7 separate regions of the Homo sapiens genome follow, and regions 1, 2, 3, 4, 5 and 6 are each linked to region 7. Evidence: promoter capture Hi-C in 16 types of primary human blood cells and fetal thymus (Javierre and others, 2016). All regions are on one chromosome and are shown on one strand. Each heading gives the region's core, a stretch centred on a gene start or on the middle of the fragment in contact. The rest is flanking DNA. Distances are from core to core; before and after follow the strand shown.

Region 1 (2,700 bases), core at 99-2,598, 480 kb after region 7:
CAAGTTAAGATGCTCAGTATGGTGGACCCTAAACCCAATATGACTGGTGAGCTGATAAGCAAAGGAGACATAGATAGGCACTCAGAGAGAATACCATATGACAACAGAAGCAGAGATTGGAGTGACACGGATACAAGTCATGGAACACCAAGGATTGCCAGCAATTCCAGAAACTGAAAGAAGGACATGGGACAGATTCTGCCCAAGAGCCGTCACGGAGACAGCATGGCCCTGCTGACATTGATTTTGGACTTCCAGCCTCCAGAGCTGTGACAGAATAAGGTAATGTTGTTTAAAGTCACCTGCCTTGTGGTACTTCCGTATAGCAGCCCTAGAAACTAATACACACTATGTTAAGATTATTTTGGTGCTACATTTTAATGATTTTTAAAAACTATGATTAGGGCCACGCACAGTGGCTCATGCCTGTAATCCCAGCACTTGGGAGGCCAAAGCAGGTGGATCACTTGATGTCAGGAGTTTGAGGCCTGCCTAGCCAACATGGTGAAACCTCGTCTCTACTAAAAATACAAAAATTAGCTGGATGTAGTGGCTGCATACCTATAGTTCCAGCTCCTTGGGAGGCTGAGGCAGGAGAATCGCTTGAACCTGGGAGGCAGAGGTTTCAGTGACCCAAGATCTCACCACTGCACTCCAGCCTGGATGACAGAGAGAAACTCCGTCTCAAATTAATTAATTAATTAATTAATAAAATAAAATAAAAACTATGATTAGGAGCTTTCTGTGACTCTCCTTTTCCCACCCCTCCCTACTATCTGAGAGTTGATGACATTTTCTGTTTTATTTCTTCCGTGTTTAATTGTATAGTCTCTGAGAACTAGATTTGATCTCAAGGACAGGAAAATGAAAAGGAACTCATCATGACTTCTGGGATGGTTAATATTAAGTGTCAACTTGATTGGATTGAAGGATGAAAAGTGTTGTTTGTGGGTGTATCTGGGTGTTGCCAGAAGAGATTAACTTTTGAGTTGGTGGGCTAGGAGAAGACCCACCCTCAGGAAGACCCACCCACAGTGTGGGCGGGCATCATCCAATCGGCCCCAGCTTGGCTGGAAAAAGCTGGCAGAAGAAAGTGGAAGGAGCTGACTGGCTGAGTCTTCCAGCTTTCATCCTTCTCCTATGCTGGATGCTTCCTGCCCTGGAACATCAGACTCCAAGTTCTTCGGCTTTTGGACTCTTGGACTTACACCAGTGGACTTACACCACTGAAGGCCCGAGAGCCCCTGTCAACTTCCCCTGTCAACTTTGAGGGTTGGGGACTCAGACTGAACCACTACTGGCTTCCTTGCTCCTCAGCTTGCAGACGGCCTGCCGTGGGACTTCACCTGGTGACTGTGTGAGTCAGTTCTCCTTAATAAACTCCCTTTCCTATATACATCTATCCTATTAGTTCTTTCCCTCTAGAGAACCCTTACTAATACAACATCCAACTTCAAATTGCTTTTTTTCAACCATAAACCTTGACTGGAGGTCAACCAAGTATTGGGTACTGTTCCAGGCACTTTAATTAAAAAGATAAAGTAAGGCACAGTTCTTGTCCTGAAAAATATCTGATTCTTAGGCTGAAAACAGACACACAGTCCCAAAACACTGTGATGAATGCTTTAAAGGGGTTTTTAGACTTCAGGTACACCAGAATCACCTGGAGGGCGTATTTAAACCCAAATGGGCTGGGCACAGTGGCTCACAACTGTAATCCCAGCATTTTGGGAGGCTGAGGCAGGAGGATCACTTGAGCCCAGGAGTTCAAGACCAGCGTGAGCAATATGGCAAAACCCCTTCGCTACAAAAAATACAAAAATTAGCTGGACATGGTGGTGCACACCTGTAGTCCCAGCTACTTGGGAGGCTGAAGTGGGAGGATTGTTTGAGCCCAGTAGGTTGAGACTGCAGTGAGCTATGGTCACGCCACTGCACTCCAGCCTGAGAAACAGGGCTAGACTTTGTCTCAAAAAAATTTTTTAAATAGGCCAGGTGCAGTGGCTCATGCCTGTAATCCCAGCACTTTGGGAGGCCGAGGCAGGAGGATCACCTGAGGTCAGGAGTTCGAGACCAGCCTGGCCAACATGGTGAAACCCCGTCTCTACTAAAAATACAAAAATTAGCCAGGTGGGCACCTGTAATCCCAGCTACTTAGGAGGCTGAGGCAGGTGAATCGCTTGAACCAGGGAGGCGGAGGCTGCAGTGAGCTGAAATGGCACCACTACACTCCAGCCTGGGAAACAAGAGTGAAACTCTGTCTCAAAAAAATAAAAATAAATAAATAAATAAATAACCTAAATGAGTGGGCCCCAACCCCAGAGCAATTGATTCAGAAAGTCGTGAGCAGGGTCTGAGAGTTTGTGTTTCCAGCCAGTTCCCAGGTGCTGCTGTTGCTGCTGCTGCTGGTGGTGGTGGCTGGGAACCACACTTCAAGAACCTCTGCTCTGAGAGAACAGTTTCAAATGTTAGAGGACTGGCATTTGAGCTGGCTTTAGGACAAGGAGTGAGGTTGGGTGTGGTGGCTCATGCCTGTAACCCCAGCAATTTGACAGGCTGAGGCAGGTGGATGGCTTGAGCCCAGGAGTTCAAGACCTTCCAGGCTCAAGCAATCCTCCCACCTCAGCCCCCACAAGCAGCTGGGACTACAGGCATGTACCACTATGTCCAGCTAATTTTTAAATTTTGTGTAGAGATGGA
Region 2 (2,771 bases), core at 20-2,519, 430 kb after region 7:
TTGTTTTTTCAGACAGAGTCTCACTCTGTCACCCAGGCTGGAGTGCAGTGGCATGATCCCAGGTCACTGCAATCTCTGTCTCCAGGGTTCAAATGATTCTCCTGCCTCAGCCTCCCTAGTAGCTGGCATTACAGGTGCCTGACACCACACCCAGCTAATTTTTGTGTTTTTAGTAGAGATGGGGTTTCACCATGTTGGTCAGCCTCGTCTTGAACTCCTGACCTCAAATGATCCGCCCTCCTCCGCCTCCAAAAGTGCTGGGATTACAGGCATGAGCCACCGCACCCAGTGAGTTTTATAGTTTTAACTCTTGCATTTAGCTCTCCAATACATTTGGAGTAAATGTTTGCATATGATATGAAATGCATTCTTTTGCATAAGGGTATCCAGTTGTTCCAGCACCATTTGTTGAAAAGATTATTCTTTTTCCACCGAATTGTTGTGGCACCCTGGTAGAAAACCAACTGATGATATATATAAAGCTTTGTTTCTGGATTCTCAATTCTATTCCATTGACCTATGTGACTATGTCTATGTCAGTACCACACTGTATTGATTACTATAACTTTTTTAAATTTATTTTTTATTTATTTATTTTTTTGAGACAAAGTCTTGCTGTGTCACCCAGGCTGGAGTGCAGTTGGCATGGTCACAGGTCATTGCAGCCTCTGTCTTCCTGGCTCATGCGATCCTCCCACCTCAGCTTCCTGAGTACCTGGAACCACAGGTGCGTGCCACCACACCTGGCTAATTTTTAAATTTTTGTTGTTGTTGTTGTTTTGTTTTTTTTTTTTTTGTAGAGATGAGGGCCACCCTATGTTGCCTGGTATGGTCTCGAACTCCTGGACCCAAACAGTCCTCCCACCTTGGCCTCCCAAAGTGCTGGGGTTACAGGCATGAGCCACAGCAACTGCCCTGATCACTGTAACTTTGGTAGCAAGTTTTGAAATCAGGAAATGTGAGTCCTCCAACTTTGATCTTCTTTTCCAAGGTTGTTTTGTCTATTCTGGGTCCCTTGCATTTTCATGAGAATTTTAGGATAAGTATATCAATTTCTACCACAGACCAGCTGGGATTATGATAGAGACTGCGTTGAATCTATAAATCCATTTGGGGAATGCTGCCATTTTAGTGATATTGAATCTTCCAAGCAATGATTTATACCATTCTAATGCATTTATTGAGGACTTTTAAATTTATTTCAGCAATATTTTATAGTTTTAAGTGTATAAATTGTGTATTTTTATTAAATTTATGCCTATTTTATTCTTTTTGATGCTACTATCAATTGAATTATTTTAATTTCCTTTTTGCAATATTTCTTTTTAGTGAGTAGAAATAAAATTGACTTTTGAATATTAATCTTATATCCTGTTACCTTGATGAGCTTGTTTACTAGTTCTATTAGTTTTTTAGTAGATTCCTTGGGATTTTTTATATACAAGATCATGTCATCTGTAAAAAGAGGTTGTTTTAATTCTTCCTTTCTACTATGCATGCTTTATTCTATTAATAGTGTGTATTACATTAATTGATTTCTGACTGTAAACTCACCTTGTATTCCTGTTATAAATCCCACTTGCTCATGGTATATAAACCTCCTTATATGTTGCTGTATTCTGTTTGCCAGTATTTTATGTTTGCATTTTTGAGAATTTTTGTATTCATAAGGGATGTTGGTCCTTTTTTCTTTTCTTGTAATGTCTTTGATTTTGGTATCAGGGTAAATACTAGCCTCAAAGTATGAGTTGGGAAGTGTATCAGTGAAGCCACTTGGACTTGAGTTTTCTTTCACAGGAAGTTTGAAAATTACTAATTTGATCTCTTTACCGGATATAGGTCGATTCAGATTTTCTACTTCTCTAATCAGTTTCAGTAGTACATGTCTTTCTGTGAATTTTCCATCTCATCTAAATTATCTGCTTTTTTTGGCATGCAGCCTGTGGTATGCCCTTATAATCCCATGTATTTCCGTAAAGTCAGTAGTAGTGTCTCCTCTTTCATTTCTGATTCTAGCAATTTGAGCCTTCTCTCTTTTTCTCTTGGTCTATCTAGCTAAAGCTTTGTCATTTTTGTCCATCTTTTCAATAATCAACTTTGGTTTTACTGATTGTCTCTATTGTTTTCCTACTTTTTATTTTATTTTATTAATTTCTACTCTAATTTTTATTCTTTTCTTCCTTCTACTTGCTTCAGTTTAGTTTGCTCTTCTTTTGCCAGAGTCCTAGGGGAGAAGTTTAGGTTACTGATTGGAGATCATTCCTCTTCGTTAACATAGGCATTTATAGCTATAAAATTCCCTCTCAGCACTACTTTAGCTGTATCCCATAAGTGTTGGTATGCCGTGTCTTTATTTTCATTTAGCTCTAAGTACTTTCTGACTTCCTTTGGATTTCTCTGCCAGCTCAAATTTACTGTTGAACCCCTTTATAAATTTTTCATTTCTGTTTGTACTTTCTATGTTCAGAATTTCTATGTGGTTCTTTTTAATAGTTTCTCTTTATTGATATTTTCTTTGTTGTTGTTTGTTTTGTTTTGTTTTGTTTTTTTGAGACAGGATCTCACTCTGTTGCCCAGGCTGGACTGCGGTGACGTGATCTCGGCTCACTGCAACCTCTGCCTCCCAGGTTCAAGTGATTCTTCTGCCTCAGCCTACCAAGTAGCTAGGATTACAGGTGCCCACTACCACGCCTGGCTAATTTTTGTATTTTTAGTAGAGACAGTGTTTCACCATGTTGGCCAGGCTGGTCTTGAATTCCTGACCTCAAGTG
Region 3 (2,700 bases), core at 160-2,659, 370 kb after region 7:
GTTGAGTGTCCCTAATCTGGATATTGAAAATGCTCCAAAATCTGAAACTTTTTGAGCACCTACATGACTCTCAAAGGAAATGCGCATTGGAGCATTTCAGAATTTGGATCTTCAGATTAGGGCTACTCAGCCTGTATTAGCACTTGCAGTGGATAACATTAAAACCATGTTTGTTCCAGCAGCCTTTTAACATGTGGTGGCTGCTCTTCTCTCTCATTTTGAACATTTGTGTGAATACATGTGTAGACAATGCCAGATGTTTCCTTCATATATTATGTAGTTTGTCTTTGGCTAAAAGAGATTTTTAGTCCCAAGTTACATTCAGAATGCTTACCAATATTTAAAAATCAGTATTCAGATACTAACAGTAAGTCCAAGTGATGATGTTATGCTTACTATATGTGATAATAACCTATATGATCTTTGATCTCTACAAGTTCAGTAAACCTGGAAATGACATTGAATGAGGCATTTGCCTATTCCGTCTTCCAAAAGCTAAAGCAAATTTTGACCGAGTACTGAGGCCAAAGCTTAGTTATAGTGTGTTTTCAATATTTATAGTGTATAAAGTGTTCCTTCATATTAGAAAAAATGGACTAAGGACATGAACAAAATACTCACAGAAGAAATACAAATGGTGAACAAACTTGAAAAAATGTTAAACTTCAGTAGGTATCAAATTAAATACAGGTACAACGACAGATTATTTTTCTGTTAGTTTGGAAAAAAAACAAAAAAGCTGATAATGAGTTGGTGAGAATGCCCAGAAAGAGAGTAAATTGTACATACTTTTATTGAAGGGTGGTTTGGCAGCATTTACCAGACATTTAAAATGTATACAGTGGTCCAGGAATCTGCCCTCCAGAAGTACTCAAATATGTCCTCAAAGATTTATACAAGACTGTAATATAGTTCTAACAGCAAAAAATCAAAATCTAAATGTGATCATAAGGGGAGTGGAAAAATGAATGCTGACTCACTATGCAAAGGAATGCCTTATAGTTACTAAAACTAATGTGCTAAGTCAATATGTGCTGTCTCAGAAACACAGCTACGGTACATTGTTACAGAAGAAAATGCGAGTTGCAGAATGTCTGTGCGATTTCTATTTAAATAAATAAAATATGGAAGGATGAGGGTCAAACCATTAACTGTAGTTGCCTCAAGGTGGAAGGGGGTATTGAGTTGAAGAGAAGGTAGTATTTTTTTACTTTATACATACTTCTGTATTATTTGAATTTATTATAATGCACATCTGTTATGTTTTAATTTTATAAAAGATTTAAATAAAACTAGGCTAGACCAAACCATGGAATAAAAGTATTATGAAAGAAACAAAAATTAATTATTTCTCTCATTTTAAGACAACTCACAGATAGCCTCCAGTGACTTGGGGAGCGAAAAGAATAACATTAATCAAAGATACAGTGGAACTGCCGGAGGACAGTGGATCATAGCCTTGAAGAATCCAAGAAATGGCAAAGTGCAGGCCACAAATTCCAATAACAAAATAATTATGTTTAAAAAAACATAATTTTTAAATTATGTTTACATAATTAGAGGAGAAAAGTGAAAGAATGCTGTTAAAATCACCACCATGTCCCTATCTCTGACTTCCTAGTAATCCTTGAGTAGAGACAGGACAAACATCTATGATGCAATCTATTTATAATGCTAGTGCTGCAAAGGAACACCTGCCTTGTGGAGTGACTGTGCTATATATGGCTGTTGTTGTGTGTATACCTTATCTACTTATATTCTTCTAATCATCCATCCATCCATGCAGTAAACATATAGGGTAAGAGGGATACAGAGATGACAGACAGTCCTGTGAGGGGAGAAACTTGTTTAGCACTGGTTCTCCAGTACCTGGAACAGAGTAGGGGCTCAATAAATATTTGTTGAATGAGTGCATGGGCTCCCGTCCAGTGAGAAAACAGAAAAGTAAACAGACAGCTAAAAGGCAGTACTGGCACACCTCGTTTGACAGTGCTTTTGTGTTTCACATATACTGTTGTTATTGTTTTTTTTTTTTAACAAATTGAAGGTTAGTAGCAAGCCCGTGTCTGTCAGCCCCATTTTTCCAACAGCGTGTGCTCTTTCATGTCTCTGTGTCACATTTTGGTAATTCTCACAATATTTCAAACTTTATTATTATATCCTTTATGGTGATCTGTGATCAGTGATCTCTGATGCTACTATTGTAATTGATTTGTAATGGCCTCTAAGTGTTCAAGTGAAAGGAAGAGTCAAATGTCTCTCACTTTAAATTGAAAGATGGAGATAATTAAGCTTATTGAGGAAAGCATGTCAAAAGCCAAAACAGGCCAAAAGTTAGGCCTCTTGTGTCAAGCATTAGCCAGTTGTGAATGGAAAGGAAAAGTTCTTAAAGAAAATACAAAGTGCTACTTTGATGAACACAGGAATGATTTAAAAAAAAAAAAAAGCAACACACCCTTATTGCTGATAGGGATTTAGTGGTCTGGATAGACAGTCAGACCAGCTACAACACTCCCTTAAGCCAAAGCCTAATCCAGCATAAGGCCGTAACTCTCTGCAATCCTGTGAAGGCCGAGAGGTGAGGAAGCTGCAGAAAAAAAGTTGGAAGCTAGCAGAGGTAGGCTCACAAGGTTTTAAAAAAGAAGCCATCTTCCTAACATAAAATTGCAAGGTTGAGGGTGACCAAGGAACAAGGCAGGT
Region 4 (2,740 bases), core at 107-2,606, 330 kb after region 7:
CTATAGATACTGTTAATAAACACTTTGTCTAACAAAATATAACTTTACATTTTCTTGTAGGTTACCTTCCGAACAAGAATCTATCACTGTAATATTAACAGCCAAGGTGTGATCTGTCTGGACATCTTAAAGGACAACTGGAGTCCGGCTTTAACTATTTCTAAAGTTCTCCTCTCCATCTGCTCACTTCTTACAGATTGCAACCCTGGTAAGAGACTTTAAATCTAGTATGAATTGGAGCTTGTCAAGATTTAAATGTCAGACCCTTAGTAACTTGTTTACTACTGCTACTACCACTACCACCACTGCTTCTACTACTATTATTGTTAAATTTTCATAGTATGTAACTATTTTCTTTTTAAATTGGGTCTTCTCATTAGTGTTTTTAAGACCTATCATTTGCCAAAAAGGAAAAAGTATAGTGTGGTAAAAAAAATAATGAAAAATCATTTTAGATGGGAAAGTACGTTTAAAGAATGAATTAAGTTATCCTGCCAAATAATAATAAAAATTCAAGTTGAATAGCTTAATCTTTAATTAGATGCCTACTAGAAGATGTTAATTTGAGGAATGTGGGCTATTAAAATCTGATAACAACCAGGCAGCACCATGCAGACGTGACCTTTTTGGCATCCTAGTAACTGTGCATCCTGACAAGCTATTATAACGGTCCTGAATGGTCTGTTCTAGGAAATACCCCAAAAGTAAACAAGGAAATACACCTCCCAAGAAAACGAAAAAGTCTATAGCCAGGCCTTTATGGCTTGCTGGTGTGCTTACCACTGAAAATTCTTAATTCCTGGGCCATGTCTTTACAAATTGGGTTTATTTTAGAAAATACAAAAATCCAAAGATAGCTATAGGGTTTTCATTGATGTTCTCAGTGGGAGAATTATTTTATGAGTAATTAATAGCTTAAATATTGCATGAGATTCCCTCTTCTACAATCATGAGTAAACTCTGTTCACTGGATACATGAAATTTTACACAAATGGAAATGACGAGTATCAGTGGGGTTGCTTAGGATCCTGGCTGTTTTATAAAACATCAAGAAATAACAGTCTTTCTACTTTTATATTTCTTTATTTTTCAGCAGTAAAATCTTTTTTAAAGTAGCAAATTAGTATTTTTTTTTTTTTTTTTTTTTTGAAACTGAGTCTCACTGTGTCACCCAGGCTGGAGTGCAGTGGCACGATCTTGGCTCCCGCAACCTCCGCCTCCTGGATTCAAGCGATTCTCCTATCTTAGCCCCCCAAGTAGCTGGGATTACAGCCGTGTGCCGCCAAGCCCAGCTTATTTTTGTACTTTTAGTAGAGACGGGGTTTCACCGTGTTGGCCAGCCAGGTCTCGAACTCCTGACCTTGTGATCCGCCCGCTTTGGCCCCCCAAAGTGCTGGGATTACAGGCATGAGCCACTGTACCCAGCCTGCCCAAAAAATAAAATTGTGCAGGATCATTATAAAATATTTTTTGAATTAATTCATACTTTACTACAGACAGTAAAGTCCAATAATGTTATACTAATTTAAAGTTAATTTTGTTCTTTCAGTCCTGTTGTTCCCATTTTAATCCCATTTGTCTGTGACTGTGTATAACCTTGTATAACCTCATTTGGAGGTAATGTTGCAAGAAGGCTTTTTTTTTTTTTTTTTTTTTGAGGTGATTTCGAAGCCTGGCCTGCTTTGCCTCCAAGTCAGCTGAAATGGAATCTGTTACCCTGAATAAGCCTGTATATGACAGCCTGTTCTCTCTACAGATATTCCTGCTTAAAGGAATAGATTCATTCCACCAAAGCCTTCTCTCAGCAATCAAAAAGACTTCTGTTCAGTGAACTAGTTTTTTTTTTTTGCTCCGTTTCAGAAAATTACAAATGCATTCTGCAAAAACTTAAAAATCACTCCTAACTAAAGCAGAACCACATAAGTAAAAGAAATAGATTTTGAAATAATGCTATTGATAGTAAGAACAAGCCTAAAAATAATGTTCCATAAAACCAAAGACAGCCTGCCTCATATGAGACTAGAAGAGAATTTGTAAAATACATGCTAACATTTAGTTTATCACACTTTTTAACACATAAAAATAAAGTTTCCTAATTGGTTTTTATGAATGTTGACACTTCTAGAATCTTAAATAGAGTTGTTTATTTTAAAGTAGTCAAATGTCCATTCTTTTGCTTAATGGACTTATTTCACACTGTTATCTGGTACACTTTCAATCTCTGTAGGTTTTTTTACCTACAGAGGTAGGAAAGATTAGGTTAGATTGAAGTTTATCTTAAATCTATCTTCAAATTATCACAAAAACAAGTTTGATAGAATAGGAATAAATAAGATTTTCCTACACTGAATCTGTAGAGCTATTTTAACCCGGAAATGCTGTCACCTCAAAAATAGGCCTTGTATAATGATACAAATTTAACTCACTTAAAAAATACTTTCTCACTCTTATCCATACATAAACTTATTTTCTAAATCTTTTTCATACTCTTTTTGTAATTTGCACTTGTCTCTTTAAAGAATTTTTGGTCCATTCCAACACAGATGTTCTTTAGGGTATGACTACCCATCCTTATCAGCATGATATTTGTAGACAGCAGATGTAGATTTGAAAACCAGTTTAATTGTTTATTAGTCATATCACATTGGATGGGTCACTTAACTTTCCACAGGCTTAGTTTTTGATATAAAATTGGGATTAGTACCAGCCCTGCCTAAATCACTGGATTCCTCTGAGGTTA
Region 5 (2,768 bases), core at 142-2,641, 410 kb after region 7:
AGAGTTACAAGGCCTGAAGGAAAATTAGGTACAACTACAAAGGATTCTTTGCATGGAGAGACTTGGGGGACAGGGCTGGAATGGGGGAAGAGGAAAGGACAGGCCATTGATTTTGCTCCTTGACTAAGCAACAGAGCCAAGGGGATTGTGGCTGACCGCAGGGCTGCACTCGGCCTCGAAGCCAGAGTGTGCTGCTAAAATGCCCGAGTGGAAATCTTCTATCTGGATTACATTTAAAATAAACTCTGATAGGTTGTCTTGTTTTCGTTTCTATTCTTTATATATTTAGGATTTATTTAGTACCTGTTTCTAAAAACAATTTATGGACTCTGCTAATACTAATGTGCAGGTTTTCTTGGGAAATGTTTAGGTTCTGAAACCTCAATAAATGTTCCAGCCCTGGAAAAATATGCTAATTTGTGGTTCACATTACTATGATATGTTCAAAAATAGCTTAATCGGCTGGGCGCAGTGGCTCACGCCTGTAATCCCAGCACTTTGGGAGGTTGAGGCAAGTGGATCACGAGGTCAGGAGATAGAGACCATCCTGGCTACCACGGTGAAACTCCATCTCTACTAAAAATACAAAAAAAGTAGCCGGGCTTGGTGGCACACGCCTGTAATCCCAGCTACTTGGGAGGCTGAGGCAGGAGAATCACTTGAACCCAGGAAGCGGAGGTTGCAGTGAGCCGAGATTGCGCCACTGCACTCCGGCCTGGGAGACAGAGCAAGACTTCATCTCAAAAAAAAAAAAAAAACTTAATCAACGAATGTTTTAAATATCAGGATAATAGAGAAAAAGAAGTTAAGGGAGAAATTGTGTTTCCACCTACATTTTACATGGCCTAAAAATCTATGGCTCAAGAACTCAAGTTGTCACAAAGAAAATAAGCTTGGGCAATACCTCCCCTACACAGACATCAAAAGGGCCTACTAAGCACAAAAGAGGTAAGTCTAGGAGAAAAAAAATTAGAGGGTTCTACTTCATAGAATGATTTTGAGTGTCTACTATATGAAAGGCAAATTTTGCTTTACTCTGATATTCACCAATTTTATAATTTTCCTTCTAATATTTGAGAGTGTGACGTTTCCCTTAGCCTTTAACTTAAAGAGGTGGGCACATTGCTTGGCCATCTCTCTGTGGATAGGACCTTCCTAAAAATGACAGCCCCTCGGTGACCTCCCAGCCTCCAGGGCCTGGGCGGGTAACAGCCTTTTAAAAGTTCCGTCCTCTGGGGATTTGAAAATACAGCCCAGGCCATATATAGAAGAGCAGAGTCCTCAATGGGCTTTGGATTCAGACAGAATTTCATGGCTGACTTGGGTTTAGGGAGGTCATTAAACCTCTAGGAGTTTGTAAGGATTAAATGAGAAAATTTAGGTTAAATATGTAGCCCAGCATCGGGCACATGGTGAGTGCTGAGTAAACGGGATCTGCTGTGTTATTATTATTCATTGTTGTTATTGCTGGCATTATTATTTTATGGGCATAACGAATGAGCTGGCAACATCAGTACAAACTCAAGCCAGAATCTGACACGGCCAAAATAAAACCAGAGCCGGCAACCCAGCAAAGGAGCTGGTGCTCAACAGGCCTTTAGAGTCCTCTCTCCAGCTGTGGCTGGCCGGCTGCCCGCTCTCCCTGCTCCTCTCAGCTCCAGAGAAAAATGGCTTTTAGATAAAGCTCCTTTGAAGCTGGGAACTCGCTGTAGTGCCTAAGCCTAGGGACAGCCCCCAAAGGTGTTTTTTTTCCACTTCTGTTGACGGACAGTCTGCAATATACGTATCAGCCACATTAATCATTTTTCTTTTGGGGGCCTGCTCAAGAAGGGCCTGGTTAGTCTGTGAAGGAATTCCAGAGCGAGTAGGTGGCCTTGCATCTGAGAAAGAGGAAGCTTGTTTCAGGGCCAGACAAGCGAGTGTGAAACTTCCTGCCGAGGCAAAAGGGGGCGGGAGGGGTGCAGACTTCTGGTGGGGGGTCTACGTGGAGCAGGTGAAAGGACCCTAGCGAAAGGTCTCACCCCTCCTCTGGTCAGGGTAGACTTCCATGTCCTGCAGAGAACGAGCATCTCTGGGGCTTCCGATAACTCAGCCCCAGAGGACTCCATTGGCAGGGCCACTTCAAGCTGGTTATTGCTCAGAAAAAATTCCCGGGCCCTGAACCCTGAACGGGCTGCCTTTCCTCAGAGCCAGAGGGAACGGCAGAGAGGACATGCCTTCCTGTTCTTGATTGTTTTAAAGGAGCCATGTGTCCAATAATTAGGTTCTGTGAAAAAGGAGAGAGAGGGGGAGAAGAAAAGAAGACTAGAACGCAATGTGCTCCCCTTAGCTTGCGTAAAATTGTATAAATAAGACTTCTCAAGCGCAGTTTAGAATAAAAAAAAGAAAAAGGAGTTGTTTGCTCCAGAGTGTGGTGTGGTGAGGCGGGGTAGGAACACGTGGATGTGACTATCAACTTTCCTCGTCAAACAATCTTTCTCCCATGATTTGACAGCGAATCACCTCCTTACTGGGAAGTGAGTTTCATTTCAAGCTCGCATAAATAAAAAAAAAAAATGGGCTATAACCCTTTTATGGAGTGAGTGAAAAATGTTTTGTGTAGGTAATTAGAGCATAAACTAGAATTCACCAGGTGCTTTTATATCATTTCCATAAAGTTTTATTGAATTAAGTTAACAAGGTTTTGGATTTATATGCCACATTTCTTCAGAGGGAACAAAACACGTTCATATATATTTCCTTGATTTTTAAAAATCCCAGTGAAGTAA
Region 6 (2,700 bases), core at 113-2,612, 390 kb after region 7:
GCCACTTCTAAACCAAAATACCTGAGAATATTTTTTGTCTTTTTAATAACGATTTTACCATTCATTTTATTTAAAAACATTTCTCAGCATAGCAGGGCACTGTATGGTCTCTGATGCACTACTCAACCCTCTAGTTGTAGTAGAGGGAGCCACAGACAGTACATAAATGCATTGGGCAGAGCTATATTCCAGTGAAACTTTATTTACCACCATAGGCATGGGATTTGGCCCATGGGTTGTAGTTTGCCAATCCCTGACACAGACCAACATAGACTGGGGGCTGGATGAAAAACAAATAACGATGTGTCATTTCTTTCTTTAACATAAAATAAATTCAATATGGTACAACACTGATTTTTGGAAAGTTGCTCAGAATGTTTAATTGCCTACAGTTTCTCACCACAAAGTTTTTTATTTTTACTTCAGATTTTAAAATTCAGCACTAAAGGCATTGAACCATTGAAAATAAAATTTTATTAAACTGCTTTTTTCCCCTACTTTTGGCTGATTAAACCAGACCCATAATACTAATACTTTAAAGACAATCTTTATAGGCAGTTTTTAAATTAAATTTTTTTTTTTTTGGTCTGTAGCAACAAGGTCTCACTGTGTTGCCCAGGCTGGTCTCAAACTCCTGGCCTCAAGTGATCCTCTCACCACAGCCTCCAAAACTGCTAGGATTATATAGGCTTGAGCCACTGTAGCCAGCCAACACACATTTTAAGTGATAAATATATTACATTGCACATTTCACATCTACTTGTACATCAGACCATTTAAAAATGTGTTATTAGGCCAGGCTTGGTGGCTCACACCTGTAATCCTAGCTTGGGACGCCGAGGTAGAGATTGCTTGAGCCCAGGATTTCGAGACCAGCCTAAGCAACATGACAAAACCCAGGCTCTACAAAAAAATACAAAAATGAGCTGGGCATGGTGGTGCACGCCTGTAGTCCCCGCCACTCGGGAGGCTTAGGTCAGAGGATCACCTGAACCCAGGAAGTCGAGGCTGCAGTGAGCCATAATTGCGCCAGTGCACCCCAGCCTGGGCAACAGAGCAAGACGCTGTCTCAAAAACAAAACAAAATTTGTGATATTTAGGAACCAAAGATTACAACAACTCTAGTAGGAATTCTAGTCACTGACCTGTTTGTTTTCCTGTGACCCATTTTTAGGTTTAATGCCCATCTGTGATATGAAGAGGCTGTAAAACTTCTCTCCCCAACTTTATGATTTATTCATACTTCATGACAAATGTACACAGCCCTCAAAATGTAAAAGCTAGAGAAACTCCAGAGAAACCAACAAACTTAGTAGAGCTGAAGTCTAGATTTCAAATAACATGGTCATTTTACTTGAAATCTGTAATTGCAGCAGGCAATACAATTCCAATAAATTTTTTAAAATGCATGTAAAATAAGATTTAAGAGTAATTTGACACTCAGTAAACAAAATTGTTTAGCTTAAAAATACAGGGATAACATTTCTAAAATTTAGGAATTATTTTGTACCATAATAATGCTGAATTTTTCACACTAGTTACTGCTAGATATAGTATTTGTAGCTATGTTAGATAAAATGTTGGCAGATCCTTGACTGAGGCAAGACCATTGGTTATTGAGGAAATGGTTTGAGATTATATTTGTTGATCTTAAATCATTCAAAACGTTGTGTCCTTAATTTGTCATCAAGCTGCAAACAAGGGGAAGATTTTTATCTGTTCTACAGGAATCCACTGATGATAGCAACTGCAGAAGTAGTCAGTCTTTTCTTCTTATTCCAAGATTAGGAAGTAAACATAGAAGTTCATCACGTAAACTTATTTAGGAATTAAAAAGAAAGGAAATAATATGTATTCAGGATGTACTATACCAGGCTATAATAAGTCATCTAATAAAAGCTCAGCCTACCTTTTAAGGGTGTAGGTGGCCCTCAGTCGCAAAAAGCTAACCAGGTGCCAAAGCGAGATTCCCATTCAAGCATGTGACACCAGAGCCCTTACTGTCAACGACAAAACCACATAAACCTTTCCTTTGACTATGAGGGCATACCATAAAAATGAATTGGCATAATTCAGTCTTAGAGTCAAGGAGGAGCACAATTCCTAGGTGGTGGGGTTTTGCCATCTTCAAAAAATGGGAAAAAAAAATGTTGAAGAAAATGTGGACTTGATATTAGATGGGAGACCAAACAGGAGGGACCAGCATTCTGATCTTAGAGGTACTGCATGCAGATTTGATCAGCCATGGGGAAACAGGTCAGTTGGAAAACCCCTGAACTTCTCTGCATCTCAGTACTGCAATAAGAGGGGTGTTAATTATTGTCAGGCATGGCAACTTTTTGATGTCTGTATCTTTAAAAAGAGAGGTCTTCATACTTAATACTGAAAACAGTTGAAATTGCACCCAAAAAGCCCTACCAGATATCCTGACCACCTGCATTTTATTTCAAGGTAGCTTTGTAACTGTCAAAATGTCCTTACTGTACAGAACACTTTCATATGTGGACCAGGACTGCGAGCCGAATGAGCACACCCTATACCTCAGCTAGTCCTAGAATTGTCCTCAGAGGCATTGAAGAGCTGACCTAGTTATATTCTGAACCCTAACATTTTAAGCTACATCAGATCTGGAATCTTTGGGAGTTGAGACCATCAAGGAGCTTAGAGTAGCTTGGCCTCTGAGGACCTTCCATGGTAGCC
Region 7 (2,700 bases), core at 21-2,520:
AGTGAAAGATCTTCCAATCCTTTCCTCCACAAAGATAGAAGTTAATTTTGCTGCATCCCTGGACACCCCGTTGCCAACGACCCAGCATTCCGTTGGTAAGTGAGGCTGGAGGTTGGAGTGGGAGAAATTTCGTGGAAGCTAAGTTCGCAAAGCAGGTACGTTTTTTTTTTTTTTTTAAACGGTTATTTGGGATGAGGAGTACAACGGAACCTAATGTTCCCTCATGCCACCTACAGCACTGCTACTGTTCCCATATCCTTCAACTGGGCATGAAGGCAGCTTCCCACTCACTCTGACAGTGGTGCACCCTGTACCCCCACCCCTCTCTTCAATACCCCAGGGCTAAACGGCCCGAAGCTCCTCTCTACCGGCTGGTGCGCATTCTGGGCCAGGGCGAGCCAAAAGGCAGAAGGGCCTTCGTGCTGCAGTGTCTGGTGAAGACTCAGGCTTAGCCTGGAAGAAGTTTCCAGGCCAACGTGAAGTTTTCCTGTCTTGGGTACATGCGAGCCCCACGCGTCTGCGAGTTTGGGTTAGTGTGTCAACAGGGTCAGTCCCCGTATCTACTTTGCGAAAGCTTCGAGGCGAGCGTGAAGTCAAGGGCTGCGGTGGATGGGGGTAAAAGGCCTCCTCGTCCCACTGCCTGCACCGTCTTGGGGTAACCCCTAACCCCCAGCCGGCGTTTCCCTTTAATGCGCGTGCCCGGCAAGGTCCTCGCGTCCCCTCCCCTCAAGCCACCCCGTCAGCCTCGGTTTCCCCCACTTCTCCCCGTCCTTGTCGTTCCTTCCCCGTGGGACGCCCCTCGCTCACCCCCGTCAGAGCCCAGTCTGCGCGCGGGACCCAGCTGTCACTTTACTTTTCCTCGCCGCCTCCCCACCCCCTCTCCCGACCGGCGGGGCAGCCCGCCCGGGCGCGCTCCCGCCCCCGCCCCCTCGCGGCCGCGCGCCGGAGGAGGAGGGGCGGGGGGAGGAGGGAGGCGCGCGGCGCCGCATGGCCGACGTGGGGCTCGCGCTCTCGCGGTCTCTCCCGGGCGGGCGCGCAGGCACGCGCACTCGCGGGTGCGCGCGCGGACGGCCGGGCGGCGGCGGCTCCCGGAGGTGGTGGCTTCACTTTCCAGGACTCAGGGGCAGCCACAGCGACAGCCGCGGGCAGCAGCCTCAGGAGCCGGAGCTGGAACGGCCGGGGGCGGCGGCAGCGGCGGCGCTGAGGGTGAGTCCGGGCGGGCGCGAGCGCGGCGGGGACAGGCGTGGTCGGGTGCGTGGTGCGTGGGTCCGGCTTTCGGTGACTAGACGGTCCGCAGGGGACATCCCGTCCCTGGGGCCTCCCCAGTCTCCCTCCCCCTCGCGCCTGGGCAGCTCTCTCCCAGGGCTTCGGCTCGAGCCTGCGACCTGCACGGACACCCCCCCCTCAGGTATTCGCTCGGGCCGCGCCGGTGCCTCCCCTCCTCGGGCGTCCTCCCTCTCGCTGACGTCCTCCTCACTCCCCCGACCTCCCCTCCGCGTCGCAGGTCTCTGCTTACACCGCTCGTGCCCTAGTTCCCTCCTTCCTCGCTCCCCGTGCCCGGTTCCCTACGCCCCCTCCCGCGAGCCTCCTGCCCCCGTTTCTCGCCCTTTCTACCCCTCCCCCTTCTTCCCATCCCCCCCTTCTGCCTCTTCTCTCCCTGTCCTCCTTCTACCCCCTTCCGTTCTCAGTTCCCCATCCTTCTCAACCCTCCCAGCGCTTTCCTTCTCCTAGCCGCATCCTGGAACTAAGTCTTTTCAAAAGTACAGGATAAATGTCACGGTGGAAAGTGCCCGGCTTGATCTTTTGCTATTTTCCCTAATTGCATAATTGCTGCACATGGTGTGTCTCCTGGCGAGTGCCGGGTTTGGCTCCTTCGCCGCCGCACCCCGGTGGCCCGCCCGGAGAAGACCTTGTGGGGTATATTTGTGTGTGTCCTGGTGAGGGGTGTGTGTTGTATTGGTCTTTTGTGATGCCTGGCGCTTGTCACAGTTTGGAACCGAAGCCCATTTTTCTCTGGTCTCTTCTCTGCAGCCCCCACTGGCCTGGTTTGAAACTGGATTCCCTCTGTCCTCTCCCCCTTCCCGCCCACCCCACTTCTCCCCCTCTTTTCTCCGATCTCTCTCATAATGTTTTGATCTTTTTGCCCTTTACCATTTCTAATGAAGATAAAGCGTGGCTTCTTGTGGCTTTTTTCCCCCACGACCAACCAGAAATGTCCAATCCATCTTCCCTTAAGGAAATTAAGGCTGCTTTAGAAAGACATCATCCTGTGCTCGGTGGCTGTTAGACCCATTTGCATGTTTTCAAGATTCATCGTTTTGTATTGTGTATTCTTGAGAGTCTACTAAAATATTTTTATTTAAAAGTACGAAAGGAAGTGCTAGGGTTTACCCTCAAAGTATCTCGCGGTTCTAAAGGATTTTACGCTCTTCTTAGTTTTTAATCCCTGATTTCTTTAAAAAGTATGTTTCTAGATATGTGATAATTCAGTCTGGACTTTGTGAATCTAAATATTTGCCTTTACTACGGCAATTTGGATGCTCCTTGGCTCTTTGGAATTCTGTATGTGGGCTGACGCTGAAATAGAGTGTTTTCATATAATGCCATACCCCATTCTCTTTCCCCTGCAGCACCTTTTACCCCCAAATCAGGTGTTCCACTGTTATTTTCTGCATAAATGTCTTTGCAGTTAAATTTAAA

Evidence for each region. Contacts are between HindIII fragments. The CHiCAGO score rates a contact against its expected background, and 5 or more counts as called.
Region 1: a fragment that was not itself captured here is called in contact with the fragment with the promoter of UBE2E2 in region 7 in 1 of 17 cell types (endothelial precursors); the score reaches 5.9 in endothelial precursors.
Region 2: a fragment that was not itself captured here is called in contact with the fragment with the promoter of UBE2E2 in region 7 in 2 of 17 cell types (endothelial precursors and total B cells); the score reaches 6.6 in endothelial precursors.
Region 3: a fragment that was not itself captured here is called in contact with the fragment with the promoter of UBE2E2 in region 7 in 1 of 17 cell types (endothelial precursors); the score reaches 6.8 in endothelial precursors.
Region 4: a fragment that was not itself captured here is called in contact with the fragment with the promoter of UBE2E2 in region 7 in 2 of 17 cell types (naive B cells and total B cells); the score reaches 6.3 in naive B cells.
Region 5: a fragment that was not itself captured here is called in contact with the fragment with the promoter of UBE2E2 in region 7 in 6 of 17 cell types (endothelial precursors, naive B cells, total B cells and 3 more); the score reaches 7.5 in endothelial precursors.
Region 6: a fragment that was not itself captured here is called in contact with the fragment with the promoter of UBE2E2 in region 7 in 3 of 17 cell types (endothelial precursors, total B cells and naive B cells); the score reaches 5.9 in endothelial precursors.

The regions. Positions count from the first base shown.
Region 1 is chr3:23,680,368-23,683,067 of GRCh38, forward strand. It overlaps LOC124909353 (a long non-coding RNA gene), which reads left to right. Exons shown (of 2, transcript XR_007095844.1): 2 at 1-1,396. Among named protein-coding and RNA genes, the nearest start is that of UBE2E1, 120 kb to the right of the region's middle. The HindIII fragment of the contact is 5,525 bases long and covers 1-2,700 here.
Region 2 is chr3:23,635,602-23,638,372 of GRCh38, forward strand. No RefSeq gene overlaps it. Among named protein-coding and RNA genes, the nearest start is that of UBE2E1, 170 kb to the right of the region's middle. The HindIII fragment of the contact is 1,579 bases long and covers 481-2,059 here.
Region 3 is chr3:23,574,899-23,577,598 of GRCh38, forward strand. All of the region lies in intron 5 of UBE2E2 (ubiquitin conjugating enzyme E2 E2), which reads left to right. Among named protein-coding and RNA genes, the nearest start is that of UBE2E1, 230 kb to the right of the region's middle. The HindIII fragment of the contact is 1,762 bases long and covers 529-2,290 here.
Region 4 is chr3:23,532,494-23,535,233 of GRCh38, forward strand. UBE2E2 (ubiquitin conjugating enzyme E2 E2) reads left to right here. Exons shown (of 6, transcript NM_152653.4): 5 at 61-208. Among named protein-coding and RNA genes, the nearest start is that of UBE2E1, 270 kb to the right of the region's middle. The HindIII fragment of the contact is 7,382 bases long and covers 1-2,740 here.
Region 5 is chr3:23,610,345-23,613,112 of GRCh38, forward strand. No RefSeq gene overlaps it. Among named protein-coding and RNA genes, the nearest start is that of UBE2E1, 190 kb to the right of the region's middle. The HindIII fragment of the contact is 1,003 bases long and covers 891-1,893 here.
Region 6 is chr3:23,591,441-23,594,140 of GRCh38, forward strand. UBE2E2 (ubiquitin conjugating enzyme E2 E2) reads left to right here. Exons shown (of 6, transcript NM_152653.4): 6 at 1-354. Among named protein-coding and RNA genes, the nearest start is that of UBE2E1, 210 kb to the right of the region's middle. RefSeq lists enhancers at 2,412-2,461, 2,482-2,591. The HindIII fragment of the contact is 3,698 bases long and covers 1-2,700 here.
Region 7 is chr3:23,202,057-23,204,756 of GRCh38, forward strand. It overlaps UBE2E2 (ubiquitin conjugating enzyme E2 E2), which reads left to right and starts at 1,271. Exons shown (of 6, transcript NM_152653.4): 1 at 1,271-1,408. It overlaps UBE2E2-DT (UBE2E2 divergent transcript), which reads right to left and starts at 937. Exons shown (of 2, transcript NR_136176.1): 1 at 808-937. RefSeq lists enhancers at 1-919, 332-391 and a silencer at 742-1,431. The HindIII fragment of the contact is 2,247 bases long and covers 573-2,700 here.